Regions from separate parts of the Homo sapiens genome. Here region 2 is linked to region 1. Evidence: promoter capture Hi-C in 16 types of primary human blood cells and fetal thymus (Javierre and others, 2016). All regions are on one chromosome and are shown on one strand. Each heading gives the region's core, a stretch centred on a gene start or on the middle of the fragment in contact. The rest is flanking DNA. Distances are from core to core; before and after follow the strand shown.

Region 1 (2,700 bases), core at 199-2,698:
CATGTCTGACCCGGCCGGGCTGGCGGGCGATAAAGTGCAGCTGTAGGGGGAGGTGGAATTGGAGGACACGGAGGAGGACGGCGCGGGGCTGTTGGTGCAACTCCACGTGGAGGCGGGCGAGGGGCTGTCTCCGCTGCTGCTCAGGGCGGCGCTGGCTCCTCCCGGGCTCAGCAACACTGCCTCGGAGAAGAGCGCCCCCGGCAGGCCCCCGCCGCCGCCCCCGCAGTGATCCGCCAGGCGCAGGGTCTCGGTGAGTGCCCAGATGTAGTTGTGGGCGAAGCGCAGGGTCTCGATCTTGGTGAGCTTGGCGTCCTCGGGGAACGTGGGGAGCACCTCGCGCAGCGCGTCCAGTGCCGCGTTGAGGTTGTGCATGCGGTTTCGCTCGCGGTTGTTGGCCTTCAGTCTACGGGTCTTCTTGATGCGCTGCACCGTCTCGGCCGTCTTGGCGCCTCGGGAGACGGCCCGCGCCCGGGAAGGGCGCCGTTTGCAATCGTGTACCAGACCCAGCAGCCGTGCGGGCCGGCAGCCCTCCGCACCCGCAGCCACGCCGCCCCGCGCCCCCTGCCCGGCCTCAGCCCCGCGCTGCCGACGCGCCCCGCCTGACGCGCCCGGCTCCTCCTCCTCTTCTTCGTCGGCGCTGGATGACAGCGGGGTCAGGGCCGCCAAGGCGGGGGAGGCCGATCCGAGCAGCACTAACACGTCCTCTTCCTCCTTCAACTCCAAGGTCTCGGATTTGACGAACATCCTACCGAAGAGAGAAAGGGGAAAAAGGCAGTGAGGTGTAAGGAAAGAAACAGAGGCGCGATCTTCGTGTCACAGGGGCGTGCTCCGGCGCGCACCCGAGAAGACCAGCTCCGAATGGCGCGGAGCAGGAAGGCGAAGGAAGAAACCCAGGCAGTGCTAACCAAGGTCAGGAGCGCCGCTAGCGCTCGCTGTGACCCTGCTGCCAGTCAGCCGGGTCCTGCCCTCCGCGGGCGGTCCTGCGTTCCCTCCCCGAGAAGGGACTGCGGCCTCCGCGACAAAGATTCTGCGCGGAGCAGAGGGCGTGCGGGTGTGGTTGGACTGAGTGCGGGGAAACCACCTGCGTAGTTGGAAGCGGTGGCTCGAATACTTACTTAGTTGGCTCTAACTGTGCCTCAGCGTTGCTGTGACTTTGGCCTGTGCCGGGAATCTCCGCGCAGCTGCGAGCGCAGCGCCGGGTCCTTCGCCCGGCGTGAAAGCTGCAAGCCCGGCGCTACTGTGGCGCAGCTCCGCGGGGGACCTCTGCGACCGGCGAGTTTGCCAAGAGCCCCGGCGGCGGCGGCGGCGGCCCGCCCGGGTCTCGTGTGTTGTGGTGGTGGTGCGTGTCTGTCTGTCAGTCAGTCCCTGGCCGTGCGGCTCCTGGCACGCGACTCCCAGGCACTCCAGTTAACGCGAAGCTGCTTGTGGTTCAGTGGCTGCGTGTCTGGCACACGACTCTCCTTAAAACCCCTTATATACCACCAAGAAAACAATCAGATCTGCCCCGGGCCCCCTCCTCCCCCGCCACCGCCTCCTCCTCCTGTCAGTCCTGCCCCCCTTCTCCCCCGCTTTTCCCTCCTCTGGCTTATTCTTTTCATTGCATTATCATCATTCATTTCTTCCTCTTTCTTCACCGCCTTTCCCCCTCCCTTGGCCCTGCCATCCATCCTCCTCCTCCCACCACCCCCGCCTCTCTTTTCCCCCTTTATCTAATCAACATAAAATGGTTCTAAAGCTCCTGTTGGAGCTCCGGGCTGCGGCCGGAGCTGGCGAAGCCGCAGCGGCCGCAGAGGCTCAAGCTGCGGCTGTTGTCGCCGCCGCTGTCCATTGTGATTGGTGGCTCGCGCTCGGCTGGAGCGTGCCGCTAATTTATTAATGAATGGAGGTCGCGAGGCGCAGCTGGCCAATCAGGGCGCCCTGGACTCCGGGAGGCCTGCGAGCCACGCGCACCGGAGCCCGCTCCCTTTCAGCAGCTCATTAGGGGCCCGAGCGCTGGGGGCGGATGGGGGGACCCGTGCTACCGCCCCCGCCTTCGTCCTCGCTGCCGCCGAGGCTCCCCCCGCCCGGCGCGCGCGCAGGCACCGCACCCGGCGCTGCCGGCCCTCCTAACTCCCGGGTGATGGGAACTAGGAATTAGTTAATGGGGGTCAGAATCCCGGGGAAAGCAGTTAGCCCTGTGGTGCTGCCGGGCGTCTCTTGGCAAAGCCTCTTAGGGGTTGTATCAAATAGTAAACGATTTTAAAATGGATTCATTTGGTTAGGGGAGGAGAATGGCGTGGATGGAGAGATGTGGACACCTCGTGAACAAGTGTGTTTGGGGTCCGTCGAAACTGGCGTGGGAGAGTGAAGGGAGAGGACACTGGGGATTCAAACAGGCGTCTCTTGGGAGGGGAGGTCGGATAGGGGAGCAGTTGATGAGCTTTTAGAGGATGTGAGAATGAAATCACTCACATGTTAGAGCTGAAAGGATCCCCCTCATTTTACATACAGGAAACTGAGGCTCCGGGCACTGATGCAGGTTTTGCTGGGGTTAACCCAGTTTATAGCCTGGAGGGACAGCAAGGAGGCTTCCTGCGTGGGTGGCAGCGAACCGAGCGGGAGGAGCGGCAGAGCTGCTGCTCCTGCAAGCAAATGCGCTGCGCTGACATTTCTGTGACCTCTGCTCCGCGCTGGGGGGCGTTGTAGGGACAAGGGGCCCAT
Region 2 (2,700 bases), core at 179-2,678, 520 kb before region 1:
ACAATTTTACGATTAATTCAATCTTTTGAAAATAAATCAATTTCTCCAAGTGCTCATGCTCATAACATCTATCAAAGAGACAAGATGATTTGTATGTAACCTCTAAAATTTTACCCCAAAACACCTAATGATTTTTCCTCTTGGCAAAAGCTTCTGTAAACCTGTTGAAATTACTCGTGTTCTGTCCTTTGGGGACAATAGGCTAGATCAGCTCCCTCTCACACTGCATTTTTCTCAAGATTCACCAGGAACATTATAGACCCATTTAACAGGCGGCTGGTCTTGTTTCTTTTTCCCACTTTCTCCACCCCAAGAATGATATACTAGATTTCTTTTTTCTTTTCCTTTTTCTTATGCAAATATCCAAAGTAGTGGGGACATTCCTAAGAGCAGACAGAATTTAAACCAAAAGATTAATTTCATGAACCTGCATGGAACAAGAGCTTTGCTTGTGGAACAGGAAATGAATGGGGTTTTTCCATTCTTCAAAGCTGAGGAAAGTGAGTGAGAACTATGAAGATACCAGTTCTTTCATAATACGGTAAGTCATTAGAGAAAAAATTAGGCTCCAGAAAAGATACATACAGATAAACATTGTCACCATTTCCCTTTCAAAGTTAGGAACACCTTAATTTGTATTTACACATTCTGCCTTCTCCTCACCAAGGCAATGCTTAAAGTGGCTCTTAGGCTTTATGTATGTATAAAGAAAGCTTTGGTTTTGATGCATTAAGGAACTAGGATGTGACTGCTCCTAGCATCTGACTGTTGAGTATTCGCATCCTTCCTTCCTGCAATGCAGTTCATTCTCAATAAGTGACAAACCCTTATTTCAAATTCAGAAGCTATGGTTCTATTTTCCATGATACTAACACCCCTACAGTATGCTTCAGGATTCTGGTAGGAAAAAGATTCACTCCAAATCAACCAAATGAAGAAACTCCAATGAAGTGAGAACTTACATTAGTTTTGGGCATGATGAAGGAAACAAACAAAGAATGGTGAGACACCCAGAGACTTCAATAGTGGGAAGCAAAAATTAGCACCACTGGCACTGAAGGAAGAAAGGGAGAAAATATTGTTCCAGGAACCCAGAGAGACCTGAGGTTGAGAAGCAGGGACCAGTGATGGGAGCTGTAGCCATAGAAGATGGAATAGGAGGAAAAGGAAGTAAACACTCTGACCCCTTTTTCCTCCCATCCTCTTATTCTCCCATTGATCTCCTATTGACCAAATCCAACTGGAGGATAGCAATCAGCTATGGGGGAATCCAGGTAATGAAATCTGTAGGGATCAGTGTCCCGGAGTAAAACACAGGATAGAAAAGGGCAAAGAATGTATCTTGGATTGAAAGAAATATATAAAGAAAAAAATTTACAGACACACCCAAGTAAGACTTGTTAGTAGGTCACTAGACTGTTTATCATTTAACAATATTTATCCCTGGTGGTCTAAAGAAGAGAACCATAGGGAGCTCTCCTGGTGAGGATTCTGTAATGCATTTATGTATAAATAGTACTGTCTCATTTCCTCTCTCCTCAAGCCAAATAAGTCTTCCAAAGAGAACTACTGAAAAAGATAGAAAAGATGCTCTCCAGAAAGACAGACTGCCAGACAATATCCTTGCTGAGAACAAAAGCTCACAGTCAACCCTATATTACCACGGGCACAGAGTGAGAGAAGGTTCTTGGCTTTTTTCCTCTGGAGTTTTAGGACATAGATTCTGATGTCTGACCTCTTTTGAAGAGATGAGAACAGATAACTGGCCAGAAAAACCATGACACCTGAGTGAAGAAAGAGTAGTTTAGTGAGATCATGCCACAGTCCCAAGGATTAGGTTGACACTAAGGAAGATATATGGGCATGAAGCAACTAAGAAAACATTGCCCAAAATGACTGCTTTCCAGGGCCATGAGATACCAGCATAACAAGGCTCTATGGGTATTGGAGAGCCAAGAGAGAACTAGCAGTCTTTGTTAATTTAAAGGCGCTTTTTCTCTCATCCTCCACTCACCTCTCCTTCTTCCATCCTGAAGCAACCTGACGTATGGAAAGGAAAGGCAGAAGCAAGAAAAATAGAACAATAATTCACCAGATCCCCCTAGCCCACTGCTGGCCACTTAGTCACTAGGCAGGGAAAGAGAGAAGCTTTGATTTGGATGAGAGATCGAAAACAGTTTTCTTTTGGATTATACCAAACCACTAAATACCTAAAAGTAGCTTGAGATCAGACACCTGGCATTGACTATGCAGAAGGCTGCAAAACCTCAGACAGACTCCAAATTAGAGGAACCAGGTCCTTCTAAAGTATAAGTTGAAGGGTGGGCCAGAAAACAGGCAGATGTATTGAAAATCATGATAGACAACAATCAGAGCCCCAGATTTCCCTCCTAACTCTTATCCTAGTCATGGGGCTTCTCCTCTTCCATCCCAAAGAAGACTGAGTAACAGCCCTCCCTCGAGTAGAGAGGCTTTTAAGATTGCACAGCTAAGAATGACAATGAGGCACCACAATGAAAAGAGGGGATTATGTGACAGTTGACCCACCTAACACTGGGAACCCTTCACCTCTTTGCCCACCTGGAAACCAGAACACTGGCAGCTGCGCTGTCCTAGCAAGTGTCTTGGATTCTTATAAAAGCAAGCTAGTGGGACACTCATGGTGGCTGATGCCTGTAATCCCACACTTTGGGAGGCAGA

What was found. Contacts are between HindIII fragments. The CHiCAGO score rates a contact against its expected background, and 5 or more counts as called.
Region 2: a fragment that was not itself captured here is called in contact with the fragment with the promoter of NEUROG2 in region 1 in 1 of 17 cell types (neutrophils); the score reaches 5.1 in neutrophils.

What each region holds. Positions count from the first base shown.
Region 1 is chr4:112,514,732-112,517,431 of GRCh38, forward strand. It overlaps NEUROG2 (neurogenin 2), which reads right to left and starts at 1,449. Exons shown (of 2, transcript NM_024019.4): 1 at 1,116-1,449; 2 at 1-745. The coding sequence starts at 744. It overlaps NEUROG2-AS1 (NEUROG2 and ZGRF1 antisense RNA 1), which reads left to right and starts at 648. Exons shown (of 4, transcript NR_161159.1): 1 at 648-909. It overlaps LOC124900760 (a long non-coding RNA gene), which reads left to right and starts at 2,074. Exons shown (of 2, transcript XR_007058231.1): 1 at 2,074-2,308. RefSeq lists silencers at 81-280, 541-610, 1,931-2,210 and enhancers at 2,220-2,700, 2,351-2,450, 2,551-2,670. The HindIII fragment of the contact is 11,776 bases long and covers 1-2,700 here.
Region 2 is chr4:111,995,013-111,997,712 of GRCh38, forward strand. The region is part of intron 1 of LINC02945 (long intergenic non-protein coding RNA 2945); the gene reads right to left. Among named protein-coding and RNA genes, the nearest start is that of LINC02945, 120 kb to the right of the region's middle. The HindIII fragment of the contact is 1,435 bases long and covers 712-2,146 here.